Regions from separate parts of the Homo sapiens genome. Here regions 1, 2, 4, 5 and 6 are each linked to region 3. Evidence: promoter capture Hi-C in 16 types of primary human blood cells and fetal thymus (Javierre and others, 2016). All regions are on one chromosome and are shown on one strand. Each heading gives the region's core, a stretch centred on a gene start or on the middle of the fragment in contact. The rest is flanking DNA. Distances are from core to core; before and after follow the strand shown. Region 1 holds the start of CCNT2-AS1 (CCNT2 antisense RNA 1). Region 2 has its middle 17 kb from the start of ARHGAP15. Region 3 holds the start of SPOPL (speckle type BTB/POZ protein like). Region 4 holds the start of KYNU (kynureninase). Region 5 has its middle 17 kb from the start of KYNU. Region 6 holds the start of MAP3K19 (mitogen-activated protein kinase kinase kinase 19).

Region 1 (3,319 bases), core at 145-2,644, 3.6 Mb after region 3:
ACCGTTAATTCAGAACACTAAATCCAACAACGCAATGACCAACTTTTTTTCTGCGTATCGATTTACCCTCAAATTTGCGGACAGTAAAAACAGACAACTAGTACTTACATTTTTGTTGAATTTGGTGAAAGAATGGTGCATATAAAACCTGTGCATATAAACAATCGCAGTGTTTATTGTAAGCTGAGAGCTGGAACGTAATATTTAGGAAATATCTGACAAAAGCAAGATCTCATTCCCAGAACAATTTTGATGGAAAATTCCCAGGTTCTTTTCCAATACCTCCCATTCAAATCCAAACCCCAAACTGGAAATAAAGAAATAAATGCCCGCGGGGGGTGGGGCGGCAGGAAGAGAATAGGCTTGACGCCAAATAAATGGGAATAAGAACTGCTGATCTTTTCACTCTAACAGCGCTGAGGGCCCTGGAACTATTTATCAATGGCTACGACTAACTAAACTCAAAATGAAACAGTTGAAACGCGCGCGCACACACCCATACAAAACCACGCCAAGAACATAAAGAACTCCAGTACGCTCCCAAGGTAGAAGAGAGCCGCCATCAAGCCGGCGACGAGAGCCGGGAAAGGCTGCGGCAAACACTTAGGCCTTTCAGCATCGCTAACCCTCCTACCTCTCAAACCCTTCGGGGTCAGGGACAAGTCCAGGGAGCCGCCCCTTTTCTGCAATAATCCCTAAAATTCCTCTTTCGCCTGAGCCACACTCCCAACCCCCGCCGCCACCACCACGCGCTGCCCCAAACAGATTACACAACGCAGGCTCCTGGCCCGCATTCCTGGGGTCCTATCTCCTCCTCCCTTCCTCTGCTGACCCCTCGCGACTGCCCGAGCCGGAACATTACTTCCCTGACCGCGGCGCCGAGGCCCAGCGAAGGCCGAGGCCGGCGGCGCCATGTTCGCGGGGCACCAGGCCCGGCGACCGGGCAAGGGAAACAGGGCGTGAGCGGCGGCGAACAGAAAAGGATACACATTGAGACGCTGTCCCATCTCCTGGATGAGGTTGGCCGCCTGCTGGCGGCACGAGAGCTCTTTATCCGCCTCCACTCCGCAGCGGCGGCTCGGCGTGTTCTCCAGCTGTTCCCGAGTAAAGAACCAGCGAGAAGAAGCTCCACGGCCCGACGCCATGACACTTCCTCCTCCGCCCGCTCCTTCATTCACCCCCCGCCCCTCCTGGCTCGCGGACTCCCCGCCAAGGCGCGCGACCCCGCCCCACTCCGCTCGCCGTAGACCACGCACCACCCTTTTTCACCACCGCCTCCGCCCTTGCGCATGCGCGGGGCCCGCTCTACCGACTCGCCCTAGTCTTTTGCTTTCTTTTTCTGCCCTCGGCCTCGCTCTTGCGCACGGGACCACAATGCTCCGCGCCGCTTGTCATTGGGAGGCGCCGAAGGTGGAGAGGTCGGCTCGGAAGGAAAAGGTCGGCGCAGCGCATGCCGGGTCTAGGGTTGGCGGGGCGAAGGGGTGGGGAGGGAAGGGGCGGGGAGGGGAGGGGAGGGGAAAGTGGGAGAGGGTGGACTCTGGCCGGTGTGAAGAGAGGCGGTCGGGCGGCTGCGCTGTGGGGGCCTGGGCGTGTACTTCGGAGGCCCGTCGGGCGCTTCCTTTAGACGGGAGGTCTAGCGGCCCTTTAAAAAGAGAAAAATAACCTTCACTGTCGCAGCCTCACGCCACTACTTCCATTTTCCTTTTGGGCGGGTCCGCGCAGTCTCGTAGGCGTGCGACTCCGGCCTCCGCCACCAACAGTCTCCGCCTAGCGCGCGGCTCTGGCGTTGAGCTGGCGGGGAAAGAGTGCACAGGAAGTCACGCTCCATGGCTGTCCGCACCTGAGTGCTTTTTTCACCCTACATTATCTTGTTTAAATCCCAGACCACTTGGTTTATTTTTATTTTTTCAAATTACTTGGCAAACGCTATCCAACTAGCAACGAGAAATTGAATTTCTAAATGAGGTGTTGAATCTAGACGGGGCGTGTTTTCAGGCTGCGCTGTGGTTTCTGCGAGACAAGGTTGGGGAGAATCAGATAGTGCAGGAGGAACTGAGTTAAAATTTTATCTTTAGGATTTGATGTGGGAACATCCCACATACCTGTTGATTAACTCCTGTATTTCTTCCTGTAAGAAAATGCCACTGAGCTTCACTCGGAGTTTGTGTTGTGAATAGGGTTTCTAAGTTTAAAGTCTTAACTATTTGGAGGCCGGGCACGGTGGCTCACGCCTGTAATCTCAGCACTTGGGGAGGTCCAGTGGGCCGATCACTTGAGGTCAGGAGTTCGAGGGCAAGGGCAACATGGCGATACCCCGTCTCTACCAAAAATACAAAAATTAGCCAGGTTTGGTGGCGCGCCTGTAGTCCCAGCTACTCCCGAGGCTGAAGTGGGAGGATGGCTTGAGCCCAGGAGGTGGAGGCTGCGGTGAGCTAGATCTCGCTGCTGCACCCCAGCTTGGGCGATAGTGCAAGACCTTGTCTCGAAAATAAAAAATAAAGTAATATCTATTTGCCAAAGACCATGGAGGCAAGTGATTGTTATGGGGCTCCCACGCTCAGCATACTGCATTGCACAAGAATATTGATTATAGTAGGCAGTTTTTGTAACAGTTGCTATTTCATACTCACTTCCCTTGCTTTACGTTTTATGTTGCTTACAATTTCTGGAATAGATTGATTTAAAGCAACATTTTAAAAGTGCAAACCCTTGGCCAGGTGCAGTGTTTCCCGGCTGTAATCCCAGCACTTTGGGAGGCCAAAGTGTTCTAGACCAGCCTGGGCAACATAATGAGACCCCACCTCTACAAAAGTTTTTTAAAAAATTAGCTGGATGTGGTGGCGTCTGTAGTCCTAGCTCCTTGGGAGTATCGCTTCAACCTGAGAGGTGAGGTTGCACCCCAGCCTGGGTGACAGAGTGAGATCCTGTCACACACACACACAAATAAAAGAAGTGCCCATCCTCAACATCCATTCATGATAAAAACTCAGCAAACTGGGAATAAAGGAGAACTTCCTCAACTTGATAAAGAGCATCTACAAAAATTCTGCAGCTAACAATAGATTGTTTCTGTTGTGAGAAACTACATTCTTTCCACCTAAAGTCTGACACAAGGCAAGCATGTCCCCTCTCACCAGTCTTTTCAACGTGGTACTGGGTGTTCTAGCTAACAAGAAAAGTAAATTAAAAGTATATACATATTGGGAAGGAAGACATAAAACTTCTTCTGTAAAATTTTAGGATATAAGGTTGAATACAAAAGTCAGTTTTCCTATACACCAGCAATGAACAATTGGAATTTATAATTTAAAAATGCCAT
Region 2 (3,579 bases), core at 836-3,335, 4.6 Mb before region 3:
CTTCCAATTATGACTTTTCTCCTTTGTACTTTTCATCACTTCAATCACTGGTCATTTCATTCTTTCTTCCAAATCTTTATGCTATATTGTCTTATTTTTTATTCTTACTTTACTCGACCTGACCTCAACTTCAATATATGAATACAACACCCAATATAGGCCTTGCCACATAATCTATATATGTGGAATAAACCAATACATTTCAAAGTTTCTATCTCTAAAGAGAATTTCTTGCTGAGTTTATCATTGACAACTTAAATTAGATGTGCATAATGTTAGTTCAGTGTTGGGTTTCAATTGTTAATTTCCTTTTAAATTGTAGGATGTAGAATTGATTATAGCAATTTTATGAACTATATTTTTCAAGGGTTTTCCACACCATTTCCTTCTTTCTAGGGGATTTCTTTCTCTCTCTCTTCCTTTTGATGTACAGGGCCATTTAAGTCCTCTATGCATTTCTGGAAAACTAAAAACTCAAATCTAAGCCTGTTGAACCTCTTGTCACACAAGTATTTGAAAGAATGATACTTAAGGGAAATAGAAAATGACACTTTTCCCCTCATCTTTTGAAGACGAAATGATCCACCCCCCTTGAATTCTACCAAAGGAGATTCCTAGCTCATTTTCCTTAGCAAGAGCTTTAAAGTGTAAAAAACTCATCAAACATCTTTTCCTCTGAGACAATGTCATCTGAGTTCAAAGGATGTACACAGCTTTGCAAAACTGCTGTCTTGTTTCAATGATAAGGCCTTGGCTTTCATTTTATGTTTGATTCCAAGAAAATCAAATCTGTTTTTATGTACACTATGACTATAACTAAATCAGAAAATTAGAAGAAATAATCTATTTCTGTAGACAGCTGGGGGCAGGGGGAAAGTTTCCAGTTTAAAAAAAAATCTGATAATGATTCTTCAGCTGAGTTACATTTTTACTCTCTAAAATATGCTTGATTATGTAAACTGAAAACATGTATTTATCCTTCCATACAATAAAAAAAAATCTATTGTGGCTCTTGGGAAACAATACTATCTTCTTACTATGCTTAACTCATTGTAAAACCTTTATTGGCTCACTGGAAGATTGAGGGCAATGTTTCTATCTCAAAAATAAAAGAAAAGAAAGAAAAAGAAAAAAAAATGTAAGTTATAGTCAAAAATAGAGCTATTTAAGCGTATGGTATTTTTTGAACTTCAGTCCTAATTATTACTGATTAATTATATCGACATAATTATTTTACAGTAGTCATGTTTGTTTATTCTACAAATATATCTTGAGCATTTACAACATATTAGGCATTCTCTCCTTTGTGTGTTGCTCTGTCCCCACTCTATCTCTTCTTTCAGTTATTAAATATGCCAAGCTCTTCCCTCCTGGAGGACATTGCTCTAGCTGTCTACTTTGCTACGGAGACTCTGCACCCCATCCTCATGCCCAGCTCCCACATTTTCCATAGCTAGTTTCTGCAAATTTCAGCTTGAAATTCTGACTGACTGTTCAACTTATTTATATAATGTCACATCTTGTTCCACATTTTCTATCTTGTCTCTCTGTTTCTTTTTCATGGTACTAAATTTTTTATTTATTTTTCTATTTATTCATTTCATTTCCTCTTCAAGAATGTGCATCCCCATTAGATCAAGTAGGTTTTTTGTATTGTCTACAATATGTATCTCCAGTATCTTCTTTAGTGCCTGGCATGTAGTAAATGCCTAATAAATAATAACTGAATTAACTGCATTTTTGGAATGCTCAAATTAGCATTACTTATAAACTGAGTTAGAAACATTACAGCTGTAAAAAGCTTTGCAAAATCTTAGCTCAATTCATTTCAATAAACACTTATGGGTATCTAGTTTTAGCGCACTTATATGTTTAAGACAATCATATAAAGATGATTGATATTTATTCTCTGTATTAGTTAGGATTGTATTCAGTTACTTACAAAAGAAAATGCAATATATCAGTGGCTTAGACACATAGGGTTTATTTTTCTTACATAATGAATCTAAAACTAGTTCGTTGCTGGCACTGATTCAGTGCCTTAGAATAGCAAGGGTCCAGGTGTTTGTGACTCTTTATCTTTGCCCTCATGATGCCAAGACAGCTGCCTTAGCTCCTGCCTTCATGTCTGAGTTCCTTGGGGGCATAAAAGGCAAATGAGCAAAACAACACTCTCTTAGTTGTTTCACTTAATAATTTTACTTTTATGTTACAGACCACTATAGGCCAGGAAAACAAAGTTCATAAATGTGGTCTTTTAAAAGCTGGGCACACTGACAGCCAAAAAGAAAATTGGGATTCCATAACATAGAAGAGCAAAATGGTTAATGGATAAGCCACTGTTTCTGGACTCCAAAATGAAAGCTTAGGTAAATTTTATATTATTAAGTTGTATTAATTTTAGGTGACCAGTATGATTTTTTTTTCTTTACAGATCACAAAATCTAGGACGATACAAAATCTAGTGAGATACTCTACCTTCAACTATAAACAAGTAAAACCTACATTATTAATGAAAAAATAGCTCTGTATGTCTAGAGTTTACATAAAAGTGTATATATAAGCATATATATATATAAGCATATATATATATATATATATATATGGATGCATGTGTATACAAAAGCACACATCAATGAGTTAAAAGAAGGTGAAATCCTGTGGTTAAGCCAAGGTCCAGTTTAAAATCATGTCATTCCTAAGTGCTCATTCTTTATTCTTAAATCAAAGTAGAGCCATCAAAAATTCGTCATACTATCTGTGTTAACAAATACCATTTTGGTGGATGGATTGTGGCTACTTTTATTATTTCACTTAATTTAGGGAGACACTTCTTGAAATATTGGCTGATACAAAGCAATGTCACAGAGTAAGAAAATGTTGCCAATACTGATAGCATTATCAATGCTGAGCCCTTCTCCAGTTTGTAGAATTAATCATAGGCATCATTCACAATTAGTAGACATTTGGCTGTCCAAACAAACTTGCTGTCTCTTCCACATCTTATTATGCAAACTTTCCTATTTGGTTTTACTGATCGGTGTCTCCATCTCCTCTCTCTCTTGTTTTATTTATTTGTATAGTACAATCCCTCTAAAAGAAGATAAATGAGACCCAAATAATAAAAAAGAATCATGCAAAACCTAAGACTGTATTATTGCAAGGTTAATGAATGAAATCACAAGGGCTATCCTGTCATCTAGCCAGCTGGAAGTTCTGGGAGATCCATCCACCCAAAGAATCCAAATTGGCGTCAGTTTCATCTGTGGTTTGGCGCCATCTTGTGGCACTTGTTTACATTAGCTTAATTAGAGATGGGGACCATGCTGCCTTTCGTGGCCACCTGGTACTTCCTGTAGGGAGGTTGTAAATTCAGAAATCTCACAGTTACATGGCTCTATAGTTAGTTGGAGACTCGGTTACTTCGATCAGCCATATATGAAGAGATTTGGGCAGAAAAAAATACTGGAAATGTAGAACACACTGTCTCCTGAGTCATGCTTCCTGTGGTTGAGTTAGCCCACTTCATGACAAAAGATTGAATAGTAGAGAACTAATGCCATTCTTTTTATATCTGAG
Region 3 (3,683 bases), core at 8-2,507:
GTACCACAATGGGTCAAACTAGGCCCAAGATTATTCAAAAATAGACAAAGCATCAGAAGCCTGGAAAGAATCACTGAATGACAGAGTTCAGTCAGGAAAGAGACAAGCGAAAGTTAGGATAAGCAGATGGTGAATCTTATTTCTACTGGGTTGTGTGACTGCTTTGAGAGAGAAAATGCTACCTTCCCTTTTCTTTTATGTTGAATCAATATACAAATACATTGACTCAAAAAGAATTAGGAAAAAGGAGAGCAGCAGGAATACAAGTGGGCTCTTTGAAGACTTGGACCCCGAACCGCGCGGTTAGCTTGATGTACTCTGGTATAAGTGAGCAAAAATGTATTAGAAAGCAGGTTAAAGAGAGGTTAAAGGCATGACCACCGGACTGGAGGTAGTGAGCGGTCTGCGAAGCTGAGAACTCTGCCTAAAATGGGCTAACAGGGACGAGAGTTTCAAGTGTCTGTATTTGGGATGAGGAGGTATGAAAGTGGACGCTGCGCGGTGGCAGAGCATGCAGTTTCTGCCTTTGGGCAGCACTCAGGTAAAAAGGGGCAGGTGTGGAGGTATACAGGTATAGAGGAGGAGAGAAGCCAGAGGAAAAGAAGGGGCGAGGCCCGGGGGTAAAACTAAAGGGGATCCTGGAAGGTGGAGGCTGGGAAATCAAGGAGGGATTGGGGGCAACCCCGGGGAAAGTGGTGCCGCCGCGCGAGGGAAGGGCGGTCCGGGGGCGTGGGAGGTAGTCCCCAGAGCAGGCCGGAGCTCGCCGCCCGAGCAGGGGTCCGGGACCCAGAGAGCAGAGGGCGCAGTGAGGCGCGAGCAGGAGGCCGCCGGTCTACGGAGAGCCGGGGGAGGGGAGCAAGCGCCTGGGGCTGCCGCGGGGACTGGGGGGAGGGGAAGGGGCGCCTACCTGGACGTGCTGGGCGGCAGCGGTCAGTCCTGGTGGAGACTCCTCTCCCGCTGAGGCGGTGGCCGTGTCCGCCCTGGGAGCCCGAGGCTGCGGTGGTGGCAGCAGGGGTGATGGCGGCAAGTCCCTGTGGCGGCCGCCTCCGCCGAACCGCATCCCTCCTCCCCGACCCGCCCTCCTTCCCTATCTCCCGCTCCTAAACTTCTTCCCCGGGATAAACAAACCCGCCGCCAGGGGCGGCCACCTCCGCCACTCCCGCCCCCGCGCAGCCCCCACCCCCCCGCCGCGGGCCCGTCTGGGCTCCGGCTTCCGAGTTACGACTCCAGCCCCGGCTCCAGCCCGCGAGGGCGCGTGCGCGCGGCGGCGGCGGCGGCGGCTCCTGGGCCCTTGCTCCCTCCTACAGCGCCGGGCACTTCCGGGCGGGCCCGGATTTGCCGCCGCGCTTGGGAAGCCGCCACCGCCGCCGCTGCTGCATGGCACTAGGCTCCCGGCGGGGCAGGTTCCGCAGCCGGCACCGCTCTGGCTAGGCGCACGGAGGCGCCTTGCTTAGTCTGACCCTTATTTGGCCAGGCGTAAAACTTGTCCTGCCTAAAAGCCTACTGAGACCTCCTAACTGGTCTAATCCGCGGGAGACGCCAAAGGCGGCGGCCGTTTGTGCGCACAGGATTTTTCTTGGAGCTGTAGCAGTCTAGGAAGCCAGGGTGGAACTTTTGCTAAGCTCCCGTTGTAAGCCCAGAGCTGTAATAACTGCTGAGACACAACCAGCAGTATACAGGCTCCAGTTGGAAATCGAGAACTTTCCAGGTAGATGAAGTGCCCCATGGAGCAGTTTTCAGGTGGAGGGGATGAGGCTCAGCTGGAAGTCTCAGGCCAGAAGGAGAGGCTGCCGAGGGGCGGCCAGGGATGCCTAGGAAGTGAGCGCAGAAGACCAGGCGGCCTCCTGGGACCGCACGGTGGGAAATAAAGCTGCACCTGCACAAATGTGTGAAGAGAGGATGGGATTGCCTTGTCTCTTCGGACATTTAGTTTAAAAAGGGGGTGACAACTGAACTTTTTATTCCCCACGGCCATGGGACAAAGATACTTAATCGAGCTACCAGGAGTAAACTTCTTTAAAGAAGTTTGGGGGACCAACAATCCCGGCTTTGCCAGAACAGACATGAACGTCATTCAAGGATCCCAACTCTTTTTGCTTTAACTGTGCATACGTCAGCAATTTTTGTTTTGTTTTGTTTTTGACAGGGCTGTCACCCAGGCTGGAGTGCAGTGGTGCCATCACAGCTCACTGCAGCCTCGACCTCCTAGGCTAAAGTGATCCTCCCAACTCAGCCTCCCGTAGCTGGGACTACAGGAATGTGCCACGCCCAGGTAATCTTAATTTTTTGTGGAGACGAGGTCTTGCTATGTGGCCCAAGCAGATCTCGAACTCCTGAGCTCAAGGGATCCTCCCACCTTGGTCTCCCAAAGTGCTGGGATTTGCAGGCGTGAACCACCACACCTGGCCATAAACCAACTTCTCATTGCTTACCTGGCTTTCCAAGAAAAGAGAGAGGGCAGAGGGAAAATATTTATTATTTTGCTATGTACTGAGTATTCTAAGCATGGACTTGTATCGTCTCTGTTCTCTCAACAACCTCTCTAAAACTTCAACGTAGAAATTTCCATCTTAAAATTAAGCGACAAGAACTAGAAATGGCAAGTAATTCATCCAGAGGTTACTGGGATTTGAATACTGGACAGGCAGATCCCCCTCATTTCAAATTAATACTACATTAGCTGTCTTTTTTATTTCTTTTTTCTTTTTGTTTGTTTGAGACAGGATCTCGCTTTGTACGCCAGGCTGGAGTGCAGTGGCGCGATCCTGGGTCACCTCCCAGATTCAAGCAATTCTGTGCCTCAGCCACCAAGTATCTGGGACTACAGGCGTGAGCCCGGCTAATTTTTGTATTTTTAGTAGAAACAGAGTCTCACCATATTGCCCAGGCTGGGCTCAAACTCCTGGCCTCAAGTGATCCTCCCACTTCTGCCTCCCAAAATGCTGGGATTAGCACCTGACCTTACGTTAGCAATCCTGTTGACTTATTTAAGACAAAACGTGCTTTAAGACAAAATCTGTGCCAAAGGTTTTCAGATAAAGATAAAATTAGCAATGTAACCATAAAATTCAAAGTTGCCTTGGGCTGAGTTGGTAGAATGTTTATGCAGATCAAGGAACTCCAAAAGTTAAAAAACAGAAGTGGAAGTGAGCATTAGGGAATGGGGAAAGAGTTGGTGGAGAGAGGAAATATTTGTGTAAACATTTAACCATCTCCAAACACCAGCAAAGAACAGTTGAAACGATTTGCTATACTCACTGTCCACCCGTGTTAACTTTATGGTATGTGACATACAGCAAAAATTACATGTAATTTTTGACTAAGCCTTTTAGCTCTTTCAATCCCTTCGTAGTATGTCACCCCCTCTCTTCCCATAATTAAAAATTATAAGACACCTAGTAAATATAATACACTCATAGAATTAAGTTATAAGTCCATCAAGTACATTTCCAATTGGAAGTTAAGAGTGATGCTGACCCTTCACAGTTGACTGGGCTGAAGTTGGGAACTGATTCAATAAACTTCCACCACAAGGATGTCAAATTGCTCCTCAGGGTATTCTCAGAGAGTCTTTTCCCTAGGCTTGATCTCCTTACCCTAAGTGTTAGGACACACCATTCCTCTCTTGCTTGCAGTATTCAATGACTTTACCCACTAATAAAATGATAGTAAATAGTAAGAGT
Region 4 (3,417 bases), core at 156-2,655, 4.4 Mb before region 3:
GAACTTAAATCCAAACTTTTAAAAACTTCAACTTTTACATATTTTACAAATTTTCAAATGTTACATATTTAGTGTTAATTTTATCAAGACGGGGGACATACATACCATATGGTCTCAGACAAATCACCTAACTGCTCTGTATGTCAATGTTATTTAAAGTTAAATTTTACTTTCTTCAAAGGATTATGGTTAAGCTCAAATGACATTAGGTCCTTTATAAAAAGATAAAAGATAGTTTGTAATATTTTTTTAAATTATCAATACCTTCTGATGGACAGCATCAATGTGCCTTCGATTTAGGTTTGGAAATTGTGCTTTCACAATTTTATTTAGACAGCTACAACTTTAAAGTAAAAAGCTTGTATAATAATTAAAAACTGATTGATTTTAACGAAATCACAGAATTCAGAATCTCCTAGTCACCCACTGATTTAGGGCTAAATAGTTAAATAAATGACTGAGTGTCTGGTAGTTAATCTTTACACAGTTTCACATTCATGCCTGAAATAAGCAAATTGTACATAGGAGTTCAAAGTTTAGAACCTGACTTAAAAATATGTTGAGAAAGCGTGTAGTTTTTCATTAGTAAAGAAAAAAGGAAAAACAATATGCATATTGAGCAAGATTCTTTAAGCATATCATTGAGAAATGGGTAACATTACTCTGCTACGAGTGTATATTTCATATCTAGGATATGAATTACTTGCTGAACACGTTAAGAAAATCAATACATTTGCTTCAGTGTTACTACTAAATAACACCCCACTGGCCTCAAAATAAAAGCAGAAAGGAAAAAAGAAAATCTAGTATATTTTTAAAAAGTGTATCAACTTTCTTTTCTTAGGTTTCATAAAATGAAAGGGGAAGAAACTCTGTTCAAGAGTAGGCATTTTCACTTCTCTAAATAAATATTTAATATGACTACTAGCAGCATAAGACAATTAAAGTTACCAGAAAACAGAGGACTTAAAATCTGTTTAAGAATATCTTTCCCTCGTCTGGAGTTTGACCTAATCTTACCGCTTAAACTCAAATAAGAACAGGACTAACTTTGGTTTGTCAAATGTAACCATATTCAGTGCACTATGTTCATCAGTTCTTTTCTATTACATTAGTAAAGATCTTTTCATTTAACCCATTTCTAAAGGTGGGGCCTTTAGGAAGGTCATACCATTTTTATTTACAAAAAGAATATATATAAAAAAAGAAGAGAGTAGCAGAAAAAAACCTCTAAAACACTATGACAAGGATTCTAGCTGACAGAAGTTTCATTTGGAAAAAACATGGAGTAAACATTAGGGTAGAGAGTTTTTATCAGCGCCTCAAGCTTACCAGCTAGGATCCCAATGGAGTGTTTGGCTCCCAGAATCTCTCCAAGAACCTCTCAAGAATTCCTTGAAAATGTACAGGCCAGATCTTAGGGTGAGAAATTCAAAGAACTGCTCAGACTCCACCCAGTGGAGAATTTATAAATATTTTACTTTACTTCCTCTCCCCTAACCAATCGGTAATCTCCAGCCACTGTCAGAAATTTAAGCAACATGTGCTCCTGCCCACCATTTCAAATGCCAGAGCCTCCAGTGAGGGCTTCTTTCCAGAGGCAACTTTGCTCTTTAAACTCAGGTAAACACACACTTGTCCTTTAACTATATAAATCTCTGACCCCTGAACTGATGAGTTGGTCTTAGAGCTAAATTCCAAATTTTGCCTTTCTTCTTCACTTTGAGCTCTGGATTTTTGAGACAATACCCTCCTTCAAATACACTGAGGATTTTCAGTCTGATGGTTGAATCTATGACATTTAATGGGTAAACTTTTTAGTCAAAAGTTTAAAATAGGCTCTCAATTCCAGAATACACTCTATTGCCTAATATGTGAGTTTTCAAAAACTCCTAGGTAATAAATCTGGACAGTTAACAAGACAATGAAGGAAGAAAGATCTGAAGATTCAAGTGGAAACTAGCCTGGCAAACTTCATTAATGCAAATTATTCATTTAAGTCTGTGAATTGTCTTTTGTTCTAGTCTGACTACCTCTTTAGGCTTATTCCTGAGCTTGGGTCTTTTGATGAATATCCTTGTAGTTATAAAAACTAAGAGCAAAGACTTTCGATATTAGGACTAGGGATGAAGAATGTGCTTGAATAATTGAATGACTTATGCACACCTATGCTTTATTTAGTAACCCACAACAAATCAAGTAAAGTGTCATTTAATCATTTCTATCAAGTGTTCATTGTATAACCCTGAGCAATTCACTTAACCCTTGTGGAGGCTCAGTCTCCTATTTATCAAATGAACTTAATAATACCTTCCTCCCAAGATTACTGAAACGATAAAACCATGCAGGTTGAAGGCCATAGATACCATGACACTCAAGTCAAAAGTGACATATTGTCTTTTTTTTAATCTTAAGTAACCAGACAAAAAGTACTACTCTCCAGTTTCCAAGAGAGGGAGATAAAGTGCATGAAATTGCTTTAATACGAGTAATTGACCAGTGAAAATAAAATATATTTCACTTCATTGATCCTATCCTTACAATAATCCTATAAAGTAAGTAGACTACCAATTGATTAACTTAGAATAGTAAAAGTTTGAATCCATTCAGGAAATTTCAGAAGGTGTACTTTTTTTGCATCTATTCTGTGTATGCCTCATGCTGTAAAAACTTTGGAAGATTACCAGGCTCTAATATATGGGGAGCGAACCAGAGGGCGGATCTGTGTCATTTTTGTGTCACTCTTTTAAAGACTGACTATAGATTTAGAGAGCTAGATATGGACATTAAGGTTTTGTTTTCACAAGATCTTGCTTCTTCTAAAATCTTGTAATAATATGATTAAAAATTTCATCAAAATATTATCTTAAAAACTACTGTTTAACTTGTCACCTTTAAAGAACTTGCTTGGAGGTCTAAGCTATACTTCTATTTCTTATGTTTTATAAATTTCTTTCTTTCTTTAAATTTGTTACATTTGAGGAATAAAAATAAAATCCCAAGCCCCTAGATTAACTGAACGGACACGCTCTTGGCCAAGGGGATCCCAGAGTAAACTTGAAAACTAAGTTTTTGGCCATGACAGGATAGGAAGTGGAACACATACCCGCTCCATCACTAACTATGATTAGGCTTTCTGCCCTATGGCTAAAAAGAAACCAGTCATTTCAAAAGATTACACCAATGACATCAACCATCACCTGGTGTTATCCCTCTCTTTTGTGGTTTGGAACAAAAAGAAAATACTGATCATGGAATGTTTCTGGCTAGTCTATGGAGAATGTGCAGTAAAGGTTTTCATGTCCTCTGCTTCACATTGGGCTGAAAACTGCCCCCTCAGATTGTATTAATGCTGTCATTTTTTGAACACGGATCCCATGGAGAAGCATGAAACTCCATTGTGCATGTGCACATTTC
Region 5 (3,810 bases), core at 187-2,686, 4.4 Mb before region 3:
ACTTTAATGATTATTTCCTGATAACTTCTGAAATATTTTTAATGTTTAGAGAATTTGTTTAGCAACTGAAAGGAAAACTTTCTACTAAAAAATATGCCATGCACATTTAAAAACATTCCAATTGCTCCACTGTCTTTCATATCTATCTCTGTTTGCTAATATCTATAATGCAAATTTTAGAAAACACATCTTGACTCATCAATTTATGAATTATTTTACTCCCTATCATGATATTAGCAGTACATTTTTTTTCCTTTCCCTTCTAGGCTTGTTTTTCTTCAGGAAAGGAAATCAGATACAACATAGACGTTGTGTTTCACGATGTCTTTTTCAAAATATTTTGACAACCTGGGTAATAAACCCTGCAGGAAGGGCTAGAGTAGAGTAATGATGATGAAAGTGTCACAGTTTTGAAAATATAAACATATAGATTTAATGGGTACTTTTGTGAATCCCTTTGTCATCGGCAGGTCAGGTACCTGATGCAGAAAGGGAGGTCAGATTTAAGGACAGGGTCTCTTTCCCACACAGGCAGGAGTGCCCGGCTAATGTGGGTTCAAGAACAGAGTAAGGCTCCTGATTTCCCAGCACATCTTTGTCTATCACTGTAGTCTACATGCTAAGCTTAAGGTGTCTAGCCTAAGATTTTATATGCTACTGGAAAACCACTTAGTTTAAATCTAGATTAAACTTAAATTTCCTAAATTTATACATATATCTAGGTACAACAAAATATCAATTCAATTTGAAAAGAGACACTTCTCAAAAGAAGACATTTATGCAGCCAAAAGACACATGAAAAAATGCTCATCATCACTGGCCATCAGAGAAATGCAAATCAAAACCACAATGAGATACCATCTCACACCAGTTAGAATGGCAATCATTAAAAAGTCAGGAAACAACAGGTGCTGGAGAGGATGTGGAGAAATAGGAAGACTTTTACACTGTTAGTGGGACTGTAAAGTAGTTCAACCATTGTGGAAGTCAGTATGGCGATTCCTCAGGGATCTAGAACTAGAAATACCATTTGACCCAGCCATCCCATTACTGGGTATATGCCCAAAGAATTATAAATCATGCTGCTATAAAGACACATGGAGATGTATGTTTATTGCGGCACTATTCACAATAGCAAAGACTTGGAACCAAGCCAAATGTCCAACAATGATAGACTGGATTAAGAAAATGTGGCACATATACACCATGGAATACTATGCAGTCATAAAAAATGATGAGTTCATGTCCTTTGTAGGGCCATAGATGAAGCCGGAAACCCTCATTCTCAGCAAACTATTGCAAGGACAAAAAACCAAACACCGCATGTTCTCACTCATAGGTGGGAATTGAACAATGAGAACACATGGACACAGGAAGGGGAACATCACACACTGGGGCCTGTTGTGGGGTGGGGGGAGGGGGGAGGGATAGCATTTGGAGATATACCTAATGTTAAATGACGAGTTAATGGGTGCAGCACACCAACATGGCACATGTATACATATGTAACTAACCTGCACATTGTGCACATGTACCCTTAACCTTAAAGTATATATAAAAAAGAAAGAGGCTTAATAAATCCCTGGTGGTATTGAACCCTCACTATGTGTCAGATGTTGTATTAGTGTTTCACATTCATTATCTCATTTAATCCTTAGAGGCAAAAAAAAGAAAGAGTTATAGGTATGATTATTTCTACTTTACAAATCAGAAAACTGAAGTAGAGATATAATAGGCCCAGTTAATAGGAAAGTGACAGATTAGGAAAAAATTTATATCTAGAATATTTAAGAAGCTCCTCGGGAAGAAAGAAGACACAATAGAAAAATGACCAAGGAATTAAAATAAGCAATTCCCAAAGGGAAAACCTGAATGGCTAATGCATTTTTAAAGAGATGGGCACTTTAGAAATCAGAGAAGTGCATGTTAAAGGCATGCTGAAATATTTTAATATATGAATCATGTTGTTAACAATTAAAAATTTAGATAATATTTACAGCTGGAAAGAATGTGGAAAAGTAGGAAGTCCACTTTGCACTCTGTTCCAGTACAGCCATTATAAATAGCTTTATTCAGTTTATTGACACTAAATAGGAACATACCCAATGTCCCAGCAATTTTACTCCTGGGTATATATCTGTATTGTTTTTTTCCCACATCAGTTATTTAAAGTGTCTCACCAGACCTCCTTGAGGCTTTTAAGGCTTTTTGCACCAACCTAATATCTAAAGAATGCAGGCAAGCTTTGGAAATCCAAGAGATACCTACAGCATGAGCTCTTGGGGGTCTTATCTTTGAGCTCTAGGACTGAGCTGAGTCTCTGATTCAAATTTCCAGGATCTGTGCTAGGAATTTTGTCTTTGGAAGAGCTCCCCTCAAAAGCTCTCAGTGCCTCCTTAAATAGTAAAATCAGGCTTATCCAATGGGTTAAGACAAAGTCAACAATAAAGAAGCTAACTTTGGGCTTGGCGTGGTGGTGCATTCCTGTAATGCCAACACTTTGAGAGGCCAAGGCAGGCAGATTGCTTGAGTCCAGGAGTTCAAGACCAGCCTGGGCAACACTGCAAAATGCCATCTCTACAAAAAATAAAAAAAATTAGCTGGACGTTGTGGTGCATGCCCATAGTCTCAGCTAGTGCAGAGACTGAGGTGGACGGATTGCTTGAGCCTGAGAGGTCGAGGTTGCAGTGAGCTGAGATCCTACCACTGCACACCAGCCTGAGTGACAGAGTGAAAGGAAGATAACTTTGGGTATCTAGGAAAGTTTCAAACCCTGAACAGAATATCATGAATTCCATTGCCCCTTCCTTGGCAAAGGTTCAAAAACCAGTCTTCTAGGCACCTCCAGAGATACAGATAGAGCTCTTCCTGTCCAGCTGGAAATCAGCCCTATCTGTACTGGATCCCGCAGAAACACTTCTTCACTTACAAAGAGAAATGTGGGCTATTGTCCATATAAGCATGTTTTCCATAACAAAGATTAGAAATGTTAAACATAAGAAAATGAAGAGACACAATATGTGATATGCATATGATGGAATACTATAGAACAGTAGAAAGAATAATATCTATCTATATCGACAGAGATATCAAAAGTAAAATATTCAGTAAAAACCACAATCATGACATTTTCATGATACGTAGTATATAATGCAATTTTGATCATAAAACATACAAGCATATACTATATATTATTCAAAAATCCCCATGGGTATAAATAATGGCATGGACAGTGGTTTGGGAAGAATGCAGATTATGAAAGAAATAATCAATGCTTATTCTAAGAGGGAATTCGATTAGGAATGGATCAAAGGAAAGAAAATAAGATATATGTGTGTATGTGTTTGCGAGAGGGAGAGAGAGAGATTGAGGGAAAAAGAGAGGAAGTGGGAAGACTTCCACACAACATAGTCCTCAAAACTGCAATAATAGACAACATAATAAAAGAAAAGCAAAATAATCATAGCTGGGATTCAAAGAAGACATACTTCTGTGGATAAGAAGTAGAAAAACAACAACAAAACCCTAAGTAGGGCTGAAGTTATGGGCCTAAAGTGCTCTGGATCTGGGTAAAAAGAAAAAAAGATACAAGTTTGGCTCCCGTAGGAGGCAGAAGTGCCTCTTACAAGTTGGGCTACTGGAACTATGACTGTTACTTTTGAAAAACAGAATTGAGTGGGTGGGCATGATTTGAGTAAGGCAATTAGAGTGGGAGGAGAGAGAGAATATTAATAATCACATGAAATTATTTCTTAAGTCTACAAAGTAAAATTTCAAATTATATTAAGTAGCATAACACTCAGAAAGACA
Region 6 (3,798 bases), core at 488-2,987, 3.5 Mb after region 3:
CCCGAGTAGCTGGGATTACAGGCACTAGCCACCACACCCGGCTAATTTTTTTTTTTGAGATGGAGTCTTGCTCAGTCGCCCAGGCTGGAGTGCAGTGGTGCGATCTCGGCTCACTGCAAGCTCCGCCTCCCAGGTTCACGCCATTATCCTGACTCAGCCTCCCGAGTAGCTGGGACTACAGGCGCCTGCCACCACACCCGGTTATTTTTTTTGTATTTTCAGTAGAGACGGGGTTTCACCGTGTTAGCCAAGATGGTCTCGAACTCCTGACCTCGTGATCCACCCACCTCAGCCTCCCAAAGTGCTGGGATTACAGGTGTGAGCCACCACGCCTGGCCTAATTTTTTTATTTTTGGTAGAGATGGGGTTTCACCATGTTGGCCAGGCTGGTCTGGAACTCCTGACCTAAGGTGATCCACCCACCTCAACCTCCCAGAGTGCTAGGATTACAGGTGTGAGCCACCACATCTGGCCAGGATTACTTTTTGAGAAGCCAATTTAAAGATTCATGGATTGCAGACAAGCTGGAACCCTAGGATAACCTGGCAGAAATCCTAAAAGTCAGAAACTACGGTACTTGCACCTTCCTCTGTTAGGCTGAGAGAGTACTCACCTTGATGGGAGTAGAAGCAAAGTAGAGCATAGGAAGCAAAACAGAGTAATAGCCTGTGTGTGCTTAAATTGGTGTCAAGCAGCTTGAAGTTGAATTGGTAATGAGGGAGTTTACGTAGATCTAACAATCTCTGAATGGTTTTTACCCTGAAGTCTTCATCCACTAAAGGAGAGAGAGAGAGAGAGAGAGAGAGAGAGTGTGTGTGTGTGTGTGTGTGTGTACGTGCTTGCGCATGGTAAAGGTAGTATTGCAACATTGTGGCCAGGCCGCTTAGGTTCAATCCCTAGCTCCACCATTCATTAGCTCAAAAGTTCTAAGCCTCAGTGTCATCTTCTGTAACGTGGCAATGATGCTGTTTATTGTTTCAACTCCATAGAGTTGTTATGAGGGTTAAATGACATTAATCATGTCCTTTATGGACTAACGTAGGAACTAGTCAATAAATGTCAGCTGTTGTTATTGCGATAGAATATCGTACCCCATTCAGTTGAGAATATATAATGTTACGCCCTACCTTAGAAGAGAAACCCCTGCATCCTTTGGTAAGTGGCAGAAAAGAATTTAGCAGCACACAAATGCCGGGTGACCTTATGGAGTGCCCTGTGTCCACTTCCTCATGATTATGTTTTCATAGTCCATGATTTGAAGTCTTTTGCAGTTGGGTTTATTACCACTGGACTCAGACAAAAATGCAGTCTGTTTACTGAAGCTTTTGCTTCAGAATATCACAAGCATATCTAGAGAAGAAGTATGTTGTAATGTAAGGATTTCTGTCTGCTAGCGCTTTCTCAAGGCTGAGTCTAAGAATGCAATCAGTTTGGTGGTAATCGATTGGATTCTCACTCTGTGACCTATATGCAGCTTTGAAAGGGGCCCTTCTGGCACCTTGTGGGGATTACAAAGGCATGGATCTCTTAGAGAAAGTCTCAGTGCATCAGGTGATCACAGTAATTGTGCCAACCATGGAAGTACATAGGGGTTTGGTAGTTTTAAAGCACTTAAGCAACAACTTGGAAGAGCATACAAAACTTGTTTTCCTTCCTGGATGAGACTGTCCTGCTTTCAATTCTCTAAGCTAAATGCACAGTGGATGGTTGCCTAGGAGACAACCTGTAAACTAAGCAGTCTATTTGCAGCTAACTAAAGGGTTTGTGCATGCAGGACCAGCTTAATTAAAGACAAAATTTAAAAGGAAAAATTATTTGGGCTGTACAACACTGAAAAAAAAATCTGAATCTATGCTGTTTTTAAATGGATCCCTGGTTGAAGTGTGGGTTACAGCTGTCCCAGAAATCAGTGCCACAATGAATTAGGATGATGTTGGCTACTGTTTGGCTTGGTGTTTCTTCAACTGTGTGCCACGTCCCTCAGCAAAACACAGCACAGGTAAGCCGAATCTCTGCTTTTCATCTCATTTTAGATAAACTGTATGTTGCAACTTTTTTACTCCCCAAAGGATGTCCCAGAGGAGGAATGCCTGGTAAACTGATAGAAGAAACTGTGTCCTAATCTCAAATAATAATATCCTTGGAGTTGTAATAAACTATTTTTTACTTTTCAAATATTGTGACGATTTCCTCCAATACTTATGCAGGCACCTCTAGACCATAGGCTAAATTACTAATGACAAGAAAAGTGTATGAAAAACACTTGCCTTCATTGAATTATACCTAGGGGTAATCTTTTAGTTTAATCACCCAAATATGTGTAAACTTTACATGGTATGAATCTTCTTGTAACCAATCAATATTGTATACATATGTTCTTAACCATGCTTTCTCAACATGAAATGAGATTTCTGTTGCTTTAAATCTTTATTGCATAAGGTTCTAAATCAAATGTACACTATAACAAAAGGTTTTGGTTTTACAAATAGATAAACCATGCATGCAATTAAAAATAAAAAAGACTGGGTTTTAATAGATGCTAAACTAAAAACCTCTGTGGAATGAAACACTATTCCTCAAAAATCATTGACCAAAACAGTTCTAAATGGGGCGGGCATGGTGGCTCATGCCCGTAATCCTAGCACTTTGGGAGGCCAAGGAGGGTGGATGACCTGAGGTCAGGAGTTCGAGACCAGCCTGCCCAACATGGTGAAACCCTGTCTCTACTAAAATACAAAAATTAGCCGGCAAGGTGGCAGGTGCCTGTAATCCCAGCTACTTGGGAGGCTGAGGCAGGAGAATTGTTTGAACCTAGGAGGCGGAGGTTGCAGTGAACCGAGATTGTGCCACTGTACTCCAGTCTGGGCGATAGAGGGAGACTCTGTAACAACAACAACAACAACAATAACAACAACAATTCTAAATGGAAAATTGAGAAATATTTTCTTATGAAAAAAACCTAAAATGGACATGTACAGATTGAAGGTTGGAAGAGGAAATAGAGCTCAATAATAAAAAGCACTGTGGGTTTGTGACTAAGCCTGGGCAACATAGTGAGACTCTGTCTCTACAAAAATAAAACATAAAAATAACTAGCGGGGCATAGTGCTGTGCACCTGTAGCCCTAGTTATCTGGGAGGCTGAGGTGGGAGGATCCCTTAAACCTAGGAGTTTGAGGCTGCAGTGAGCTATGATCAAGCTGCTGTACTCCAGCCTGGATGAGAGAGTGAGACCCCATCTCTAATAAAAATAATTTTTAAAAGCCATGGTCTGTGCATGTTAACTAAAAGAATGACCTGCATATAGGGATAATGCTATGTGCTCATTCCATCTTCATTGTCTTCCTCCAGTCTCTATTGAGTATGTGAGACAATAAATGGCCAAATAATGACCACATTACCCGGTATTGCAGTGATTTGATTTGATAATTTTGGGATTGTAGTTTAGTTAAATCTAAATTTTTTTGTTTTATTTTAGATGATAGATACTACTTATGAAATGCTCTCCCTTAAGGGTCACATTAAAAAGTTAAATTACAACTCCATAACATTGCTAGGTAATAACCTTGGGGGAAAAATGTTTGAAGTTTTATTAGTACTTTATGAATAAAGTGTGATATAAATATCTATTTCTTGCCTAGTTGTTATTTGAATATCTGATTTTTAGCTTTATTGAAAGACAAGTTTTAATTATCCTTTGTTTCGGAAAACCTTTTTTCCCCCTGAAATGATCCTGCAAATACTGTTGCATTTTCAAAAACAAGTATGTAAATCTAAGTTACAAAGCAATTTACTGGGA

The links. Contacts are between HindIII fragments. The CHiCAGO score rates a contact against its expected background, and 5 or more counts as called.
Region 1: a contact is called between the fragment with the promoter of CCNT2-AS1 here and the fragment with the promoter of SPOPL in region 3, in 6 of 17 cell types (total B cells, non-activated CD4 T cells, total CD4 T cells and 3 more). The highest score is 11.3, in total B cells.
Region 2: a contact is called between a fragment that was not itself captured here and the fragment with the promoter of SPOPL in region 3, in 1 of 17 cell types (naive B cells). The highest score is 6.4, in naive B cells.
Region 4: the fragment with the promoter of KYNU here is called in contact with the fragment with the promoter of SPOPL in region 3 in 3 of 17 cell types (total B cells, M1 macrophages and M0 macrophages); the score reaches 12.3 in total B cells.
Region 5: a contact is called between a fragment that was not itself captured here and the fragment with the promoter of SPOPL in region 3, in 2 of 17 cell types (total B cells and M0 macrophages). The highest score is 9.7, in total B cells.
Region 6: the fragment with the promoter of MAP3K19 here is called in contact with the fragment with the promoter of SPOPL in region 3 in 1 of 17 cell types (total B cells); the score reaches 8.6 in total B cells.

What each region holds. Positions count from the first base shown.
Region 1 is chr2:134,916,681-134,919,999 of GRCh38, reverse strand. It overlaps CCNT2-AS1 (CCNT2 antisense RNA 1), which reads left to right and starts at 1,394. Exons shown (of 5, transcript NR_036549.1): 1 at 1,394-1,437. It overlaps CCNT2 (cyclin T2), which reads right to left and starts at 1,178. Exons shown (of 9, transcript NM_058241.3): 1 at 988-1,178; 2 at 109-190. The coding sequence starts at 1,145. RefSeq lists enhancers at 579-668, 879-1,148, 1,299-1,458, 1,536-2,209, 2,219-2,268 and a silencer at 1,469-1,538. The HindIII fragment of the contact is 7,926 bases long and covers 1-3,319 here.
Region 2 is chr2:143,110,741-143,114,319 of GRCh38, reverse strand. No RefSeq gene overlaps it. Among named protein-coding and RNA genes, the nearest start is that of ARHGAP15, 17 kb to the left of the region's middle. The HindIII fragment of the contact is 563 bases long and covers 1,804-2,366 here.
Region 3 is chr2:138,499,344-138,503,026 of GRCh38, reverse strand. SPOPL (speckle type BTB/POZ protein like) reads right to left here and starts at 1,257. Exons shown (of 11, transcript NM_001001664.3): 1 at 908-1,257. SPOPL-DT (SPOPL divergent transcript) reads left to right here and starts at 1,332. Exons shown (of 2, transcript NR_187149.1): 1 at 1,332-1,708; 2 at 2,147-3,683. RefSeq lists silencers at 572-621, 822-1,361. The HindIII fragment of the contact is 5,215 bases long and covers 1-3,683 here.
Region 4 is chr2:142,875,652-142,879,068 of GRCh38, reverse strand. It overlaps KYNU (kynureninase), which reads right to left and starts at 1,405. Exons shown (of 14, transcript NM_003937.3): 1 at 1,333-1,405. The HindIII fragment of the contact is 4,288 bases long and covers 1,330-3,417 here.
Region 5 is chr2:142,859,041-142,862,850 of GRCh38, reverse strand. No RefSeq gene overlaps it. Among named protein-coding and RNA genes, the nearest start is that of KYNU, 17 kb to the left of the region's middle. The HindIII fragment of the contact is 1,619 bases long and covers 627-2,245 here.
Region 6 is chr2:135,045,386-135,049,183 of GRCh38, reverse strand. MAP3K19 (mitogen-activated protein kinase kinase kinase 19) reads left to right here and starts at 1,737. Exons shown (of 13, transcript NM_025052.5): 1 at 1,737-1,999. The HindIII fragment of the contact is 2,914 bases long and covers 1,325-3,798 here.